2 separate regions of the Homo sapiens genome follow, and region 1 is linked to region 2. The links are contacts of gene promoters, found by promoter capture Hi-C in human tissues and cell types (Jung and others, 2019). All regions are on one chromosome and are shown on one strand. Each heading gives the region's core, a stretch centred on a gene start or on the middle of the fragment in contact. The rest is flanking DNA. Distances are from core to core; before and after follow the strand shown.

Region 1 (4,684 bases), core at 682-3,181, 170 kb before region 2:
CTCAGACTCCCGAGAAGCTGGGACTCAGCTACTGTGCCAGGCAAGAACAATTCTTTTTATAACATCTTCAGAAACATTAAAATTATAGACTAGAAAGACTATTTCAAATAGAGAAAGGCTCACTTTTCCTGCCTAATGTAATTCTTTAATGTTGCAATTCAATTTGCCCTTCACAGAAACACCATCCCACTGTAACAGATTATAGGGAGTGACCTTCTCAATCTCATCCAAGGTATGGATGGGTCCTTGTCTTCATATTTCAGGCATGCTGAATTTTAAATTAGGGAAAAGAAATTTTACCGAGAAAACTGGAGAAAAAAAACAAATACAAAAAGGCAGGAGCTAAGGAGTCATAGAGTACAGGTAATTTAATAATACAGAGTTGACCATGCCTACTAACTACATTAGTTATTATTTATTAAGTGCTTACAACCATGCTTAGCAGATAGCATGTGCTCAATGCATGTGAGCTGTTGTCTGTTATTCCAATGGCTTGGATGCACACTTGACCATGCAGAGTCCACAATCCTTCTTACTCCTCCCTTGAATGTACATGCTGCCAAAACTCTGCTTTGAAGCCCTCAAAATTTCCTCTCCCACTCCAATTTCTATGGAACTTTAATAGACAGAGAACAAGAGAGCTGAACTAAAATAGAAATCAGTCACTGTGACCTAACCAAGTTACTAAAAACATGCTAAGAGTCACCAAAGGCTGAGAAGTATCAACACATAAAAGCATGTACACTAGAAACAGAGCAAAATACTTAATTCCCCAGTCTTGAAAGTCAAACAGGCCGGGCATGGTGGCTCACGCCTGTAATCCCAGCACTCTGGGAGGCCAAGGCAGGCGGATCACGAGGTCAGGAGTTCAAGACCAGCCTGACCAATATGGCGAAACCCTGTCTCTACTAAAAATACAAAAATTAGCCGGTATGGTGGAACGTGGCAGTGATCCCAGCTACTCAGGAGGCTGAGGCAGGAGAATTCCTTGAACCCAGGAGGCAGAGGTTGCAGTGAGCCCAAGATCGCGCCACTGCACTGCAGCCTGGGCAACAGAGTGAGACTCCGTCTCAAAAAAAAAGAAAAGAAAAGAAAAGAAAGTCAAAGAGACCTGTTTCCCCACACGTATCTCTACATCTCTAGTTTATCTTGTATAAGCTTCCAAGACAGGGAAAACTAAGGCACAATACAGACATGAACTGGCCAATGAAAATAGAAAGAGAATAGAGAATGGAGATAGGGGAGGCAGTAGAATGCTAGGAAAGATGGGAGAAAGAAAGGGAAAAAGACAAATTGCTGAGAAAAAGGAATGAGGCAACAGATGAACAGCATGAGTTGAGACGAATTAGGTGTAATGTTCCCCCAAGATGAGTGTGAATGGCAACTGACGAGGACAGAGAGCTCTGCTCTTCACAGAGTCAGGGTGACAAGGTTCTGCCCATTCACTGAACTGTTGCTACACAGCTCTAGAAGGACAGCAAAGTCAAGGAGAGAGAACACGCACCAGCATGACTAGACAGCCAGGACCTAGTGGGTGATAATCATCACGATTTTTTAAACCACAACCACCTTCTGTCATTAACAGGATGTTGTGAGAACAAGGAAATTTTCTGTCAGATGCTGAAATCTCTGGAAAGAGGTACCATTTAAATGCTAACGTTTATTATCAATGGTGATGGTGGTGATCAAGATGATGATGGAATGATGATGACTTACATTCAGAATCTCCGTACCTAGAACCATCTGCCTCAATGATGCCCAAGCACCTTTCAAATTTCATTAACTCTTACCTGTGTTTTAATTAATCATCATTTTAATAACCCTGGAAAGCATTCTAGAGGCTGCTGATAAAATGAGAAGCAAAATTAAATGATTAAGAGTAACTTTCATCTGACCGTGGGAAAATCACAGGCACTTTTGATGGCCTCATTTTGCTAGCGAACAATGCCATTCATCTGGATACATCCTATCCATGACTAGGACTAACCTTACAAGTAGATAAAGGCAGCATTCCAGAATGGTATAATTTAAGAAGCTTTCCTTGCCCCAAAATATCTCCCTTGCCCAGACATAAAAATACCCAACAATCTGTTTTTAAAGGTCTGTTCCTCTGGATTTCTCAGCAATGAGGTCTCCATTTTTAAAATGCAAATGCTTCTGGATTTTATCAAGAAACTCAGCTATCTTCACATCCTATAAATAGCTGTGGTTGTTTTTAATCTGATGTTTTCAACCTCTCTGAGGAGGGATCCCTGGCTGCATGAAATCATTAGTCATCCTAAAAACTGGGGTGGCACCAGACAGAGTAACAAGCATTTGAAAAATTAAAATAAATAAAAGAGAACAGCAAGCCCCTAATACAAGTCATTCATTTGGAGATTTTTGCTTAAGACTGATTTACCCCAGGTTATTTTACACATCCAGAGCTAGAATATGCCAGATTGCAAGTTAAAAGAGGACGCAAAGTAAAACATCTTCTGTAGCTCTAATGAAAACCAGCATCCAGGGAGTCCCAGTTGTTGTGCCCAACTTTCTTCTGCTAATACTCAAAGCAAGGAGATGAATAGTGTCCCATCCCTTAGCCCCACATCCACCTCCTGCCCCATTATTCTGGCTTTCATTTTTGCAGCCACAGAACTAGAGGAAGGAAGTTCTGGAATTTCTGGCAGAGGGAGCAAGACATATATACTCCCTCCAGTCACTGGCACTCTCACTGCCAAAATTCCTCCTTTGTTTACCACATTGCTCCCCTGCAGACTCAGGGCTCACACCCCTCACAGAGGGCACAGAGAGGTGAGTATCTTTCTAAGGACCTACTGTACTTCCTTCCAGATGAAGGTGCCAGCAAGCTTTCAGAATTTCTTTTTTAATCTTTTTATGCATCATAGAAAGCAAAGAGAAACTTGTTTGAGCCTTGAATCCTGGAGGGGAAGTAGACTAGCCTTCCACATACCTGGATGCAGTTCAATACTTGATTAGAAGACAATTGCTTGTTAGTCAGCTGCACAGGCTGAGATAGGTCACCAGCCCACAACCTAAGCCCTTCACCTCAGACAGACCACCCAAGTTCACCCACAGGGGCAGAGCAGGCCTAGCACCTCAGGCACCCTGCCACTGACATATATGCACCCCAGGAAAAGGAAATTGTATGTGTGTTCTGCCCACTTTTCTTAAGCATCATGAAAATCTCCGTGTACTGCCACCAAGTCTTTTGTGAGTGTGTGTGTATTTGTGTGTATGTGTCTATGTTGATATCTAACTATATGTAGATACACACACAAGGACAGAAACAGGGATATTCCCAACAGCAATACTGCATTACCAAGAGCTCATTTTCATCTGGCTGGCCAGCACTACAAAGTGGCTGTGTATTCTCGTGTAACACTCCTTGTCACCTACACCAATGTATGTGCACTGCCTAGAGAAGCCAGACTGAATCATGGCAGGGAAGACATCATCTCGAGTATCTTTAAGCTCATTATCAGCAAAGTTTATGTTAGCAGGGTTAATAGATGCTCTTCTGAGTCTATTTCTCTTCTCCCTACACTACCTACATTCCTATAACTCACCACTCTCCCTAACCCCTGTAAAACTTTACTTGCCCCATTGTTTGTGAGTAACTCAGTCTAGTACTTGGGTTTTCATACGGTTTTCAAATGTGGTTCCATTGATGTTGAGATGCATGAGAATCCTCCCAGATCTTGCCTGCTTGTGTCATCCACATTTTATCCTCCATATTTCAGCTAAGAAAGTTTCAAGTAGGTCCATCCGCATTTTAACTTCTGACTTTGAAAAATCTTGATGGAACCAGGATGAATTTCAGCCTGATGCTACTTGCAGATCACTTGTCTCCTCTCCACAGTAAGTAAGGTTTACCCATGACAAAGGCTATCATCTAAGAAAGCCACTTTGTGAGAGCAGCAGAAGGGCCACAGGAAGTTGCTTACTCTAGCTTTGTTTCATATTCTACTGGATGGCAAAAGTGTGGATAACTCTTGGCAGCCACTACTGGTTGGATGGCATTTTGCTTAGACTCCCCAGTGACCCTGAAGGACGTGCATACTTCTATTTTCTGAATAAGAGTTTCTACAAATCCCCAGAGATAGCTTTTCAATGTACAAATGTCCCATCAGTCTGCTCCTAAGACCACTTAAAGTCAGTATCTGCTCTAGTCCATATGACACTTAAGGAACAAGGGCCATTTTTTAATGCAACATGACTCACAAAATCTCTTCCTGGGTAGCTTATGAAAAGGAGGGAAACCAACTAGGGGAATATTGCTTTTATAAGTCAGCCTTAAAGAAAATAAGAAAAAACAAGTTGATTTTCAAAGCTATTCTTCTTGAACAAACTCAATATGTGGCTATTGAAATAACATATTTTGTAGTGTGCCCTTAAAATGACGTGAATAATACAGGGGAAACATTAAAACAGAAAGGCTTCCTTTACAGATGCTACTTAAGAAACTTAGACCCCGGAATTAAAATTTAAATATTTTAATGCCTTTTTACATTCCCTTTTGCCCCATCCCATTCTTCAAAAGAAGATGTTAGTATGAAACAGAACAAGATACCACTTAACATCAAAATGTCTAAACTTTCTAGAGGGGATATATTACTCTTTATTAGTTGATTTGATTGGGTAAATATTCCTCATGTGTATTTGATTTTTGTGCTGGCATTCA
Region 2 (4,277 bases), core at 1,774-4,273:
TACCCTTGCTTCATGTAAACACAGGGTGACTATGACTTCTAAAGGCCTGGGTGTTGCAGTTCAGTGAGGGCCTGATTTAGTAGCTAGAATACATCTCAGGGAGGACAGCAGACCTCTTTGTCTGGAGGAAGGGTGTATCCATGACTCTGGTCATCACGGCTTTCTAGCAATTCTCCTATGAATGTTTCATTCTAGGTTCCTACTGAGGTATATTTTGGGAGTCTCGAGCATTTCCATGACAAAAGGATTTGGGTTAGCCCATTTTACTTTTACAAGTGCAAGTGAAACACTTTGATGTAAAAGAGTCACCAACAGACTAAGTTACCTTCTCTGCACAGTAGAAATAACATAGCTTGTAAGGTTTATCCAAAATCTGAGTGATAATTGGGTAAACTGTTTTGAATTATCAGTGCCAGGAATCTTCCATGATTGCAGCTTTGATGTCATGTAAGTGTCTATGTCTAAGAATACAAAAACATACATTGCATAGCCCCTAGTACTCTCTGGTTTCATGGACCAAAACGTGCAGGATTGTATTCCTTATTCCCATAGTATATGGTAGCACTTTAATTTTTTAATGTCTTCATGCCTTCCAACCTTCAAAACAAGGAGCACAGTAACTGCCTCTGCCTACTCTGCTAGCAGGATTTACGGATCACATCTTTCCTGGGTATTCTTGATCTTGTGGCTGAGGTACATTCCTTTGAAACCACCTCTTCCACCCCACCCCACACAGAGTAACTCAGTCTTTCTAACTTTAAGCCAGTCACACAGAGCATCTCCAACAAAACCTGAAACTTAGGCATTTGGCGCTTGTCACACCCAAGGCATGGCTTTCTGAGATTTAGCAAATTCCAAAAAGGTCGATATGATTCTTCCTTTGTGTTACGTATTCAAAACTTAAATTTTAATTTTAATCGTTAGGATATGTAAAATGTTTAAATGTAAGTGTGTCCTGGGCATATTAGCATAGTTTTATTTTGCCAAACAGAGGAAAGTCTTGGGTTTTGAATTTGGAAGCAAATTTTAAACTCTAGGAAAGAGAAAGATCAATGGAACAAAACATCTGTACATATATCCATTTATTATTATCGTCTGTGCTCATATGACTGGCTCCAAGATAATAGCTTACAACCAGTAGTGCTGGCTTCACCGACTTCCCATTTAAAATTACAACATTTTCTCTGTATTTGCATTAATTTAATGATGTATATGACTATGCCTGTCTTTAGAAGAAAGCCCTTCTGAGTTTCATAATTCTGATTTTCTCGATTAATGTGTATGTAGACCATCTACGTATGCACATAAATAAATGAGAATGGCACTTGTTTCCAAACAATTATTAGAAGCAGTAACATACAAGGATTAGGGGAGAGGAGGGTTATTGCATCTACCTGTGAAACCAGAATTAAATAGTTGCTCCTCATTTCATCAGGAGAAAGGAATGTGCTCTGGGGAATAGTGCGATAGTCATAAAGCACTGACATAGCTAAACAAAATATCTGCCTGGTGCAGGTATTTCAGTTCTGGGAATGGATGTAGAAAAAGTCCATATAGGGGTAGACAGGAAGAAATGAGGTCCATGTCTCTTTCTTTCAATTATCTATGAAAATGAAGACACCAATCCATGTCATGTACACGAATGAAGAAAATTCTTGGGTTAATTCATCTCCAAGCGTGTCTAAAGGTGGGAGGGTTTGTAGAGTGAAGGCACTCAAAATTCATTTCCCCATTGTCTGAGAATTTTTATGCACCTTTCTCATCTGAAGGGCTCAATTTTTTCTTGAAGGGTACACACAATGCTCCACCAAAGCTCATTGTGCAATTTTATTTTGAACCCTTGAAGGACAGCTTTTCTCTAAGAAATCTAACACAAAAACGCCCTTAATTAACAGGCTTTTTTTTGCAGGGTGGGGCCCAAGCGGGATCCCAGAGACTGGAAGTGTGAATTTTAATGCTTTGCTGTCAAAGGAGGCGACTCTGGACATTCTCATCACCTTATTTAAAGCGGGGTACGCTGACTAATACGTGAAGCTGTGCATTAATGGCCTAAATTAAGTTACAGGTATGAATTTTACATAAAACAGATTAATATTATATGTCATAATGGAATTTTAAATATTCCGTGTCCATGCATTTTTAATCTTTACGTGCTCTAATTGAATGCGCAAGGCAACTGCATTTCTTGAGCCCACTTTTGCATTTAGATGGGGTAAAAGAACCCCCCCCACGTTTTTGTTTTATTTATATTCCCTTCACCAAAAACCTGCATTCGATTCGGCATTCTTTTCCTTCTTTTTTTTTCTACTTTTGCTAAGCTTTAGCATTTTTTAAAAAGAAAACGGAAAGGCTACACATTCCATTCCATCATTATGGTTTCGGCAAATGTGAAAAGGCGAATAATGAAACGGAGGAGGGAAATATAGAACAGAATGAACGTGCCTTCTTGAACAGCGCGTCTTTCTTAAGGCACTGGAATCCCACGGATGGAGTGATGGGTGGCGGAGGGTCCCTGGGCGCCGTGCTATTAGGAGTGGCAGGGTATCCGCGAGCAGGGCCCAGGCGCTCCCTCAGCAGCCTAGTCGGGATAAGGGGGGCGGTGGAGAGTGAATTCCGGCCGCACATTCCCGCAGTTCTTCGCAGGAACTTCGCTCTCTCTTTTCCCCTCCCTTGGGCACACATCAGCCTGGCCCGACTCCCACTCAGCTCTCTTTTCTCAGAACCCCGACCCACAGCGTTGACGGAATGGAGTGCCCTTCCCATTGGCCCGAGCGTCATTCCCCGAGGTGGCACTGCCCGCCTGATTGGCTGGCCACTCCAGACCCCCCGCCCACTCCTCCACTCGGGTAGCCGGACTCCCCGCCCCCCAGCACCGCCCGGAGCCCCCGCCCTCGCCTCTCCCTCCGCGCCCCCGCCCGCGCGCCCAGCGGGCTCCGCTCGGCTCGCGCTGCGACCCGGCCCGCGCGCTGGTCCCGCCCCCGGGGCGCACGGCTCTATAAATACAGCTGCGCGGCGGGCCGGGCGAGAGCGTAGTGGAGGAGGCGCGGTTGTGAGTAGTACCGGGAGTGGGGTGATCCCGGGCTAGGGGAGCGCGGCGGCCGCGATCGGGCTTAGTCGGAGCTCCGAAGGGAGTGACTAGGACACCCGGGTGGGCTACTTTTCTTCCGGTGCTTTTGCTTTTTTTTTCCTTTGGGCTCGGGCTGAGTGTCGCCCACTGAGCAAAGATTCCCTCGTAAAACCCAGAGCGACCCTCCCGTCAATTGTTGGGCTCGGGAGTGTCGCGGTGCCCCGAGCGCGCCGGGCGCGGAGGCAAAGGGAGCGGAGCCGGCCGCGGACGGGGCCCGGAGCTTGCCTGCCTCCCTCGCTCGCCCCAGCGGGTTCGCTCGCGTAGAGCGCAGGGCGCGCGCGATGAAGGCGGTGAGCCCGGTGCGCCCCTCGGGCCGCAAGGCGCCGTCGGGCTGCGGCGGCGGGGAGCTGGCGCTGCGCTGCCTGGCCGAGCACGGCCACAGCCTGGGTGGCTCCGCAGCCGCGGCGGCGGCGGCGGCGGCAGCGCGCTGTAAGGCGGCCGAGGCGGCGGCCGACGAGCCGGCGCTGTGCCTGCAGTGCGATATGAACGACTGCTATAGCCGCCTGCGGAGGCTGGTGCCCACCATCCCGCCCAACAAGAAAGTCAGCAAAGTGGAGATCCTGCAGCACGTTATCGACTACATCCTGGACCTGCAGCTGGCGCTGGAGACGCACCCGGCCCTGCTGAGGCAGCCACCACCGCCCGCGCCGCCACACCACCCGGCCGGGACCTGTCCAGCCGCGCCGCCGCGGACCCCGCTCACTGCGCTCAACACCGACCCGGTGAGAGGCCGGGCGCCGGCCGTGGGCGGACGCCGCGGGGGATGGGAGGTTGGTGGCGTGGTGGCGGGACGCGGGCGCTCACCGTCCTCCGGGCAGGGGCGGGCCAGGAATGACAGCCCCCTCCCCCTGCTCCTCCGGGCTCCCCCGGGCCGCCAGCAGCCGGCCGGGCTCGGCGAGCGCGGGTCCGGGAGAACGCGCAGGGCGGGACTCGGGGCTGTGGGCGCCCTGGGCTGTCAAGTCCCGCCTGAGCCCGGAGGGGCCCCCCCGGCTACAGGCTGGGGTGGGGGCGTCGGCGCGCCAGCCTGATTTCCGAGGACAATCCAGGACCGTGTCGAGCGCGTTGTTTGCGCCTGCTAACCTTTCCCTTGGTGTTCGGTTGCTGTTCCAGGCCGGCGCGGTGAACAAGCAGGGCGACAGCATTCTGTGCC

The links. The method cuts DNA at HindIII sites, captures the fragments that hold promoters and counts their contacts. A contact is called where the count stands out against the background at its distance.
Region 1: a fragment that was not itself captured here is called in contact with the fragment with the promoter of ID4 in region 2 in 1 of the 25 tissues and cell types used here (aorta).

What each region holds. Positions count from the first base shown.
Region 1 is chr6:19,666,700-19,671,383 of GRCh38, forward strand. No RefSeq gene overlaps it. Among named protein-coding and RNA genes, the nearest start is that of LNC-LBCS, 140 kb to the right of the region's middle. The HindIII fragment of the contact is 4,246 bases long and covers 1-4,054 here.
Region 2 is chr6:19,834,347-19,838,623 of GRCh38, forward strand. ID4 (inhibitor of DNA binding 4) reads left to right here and starts at 3,024. Exons shown (of 3, transcript NM_001546.4): 1 at 3,024-3,849; 2 at 4,238-4,277. The coding sequence starts at 3,409. The HindIII fragment of the contact is 7,095 bases long and covers 1-4,277 here.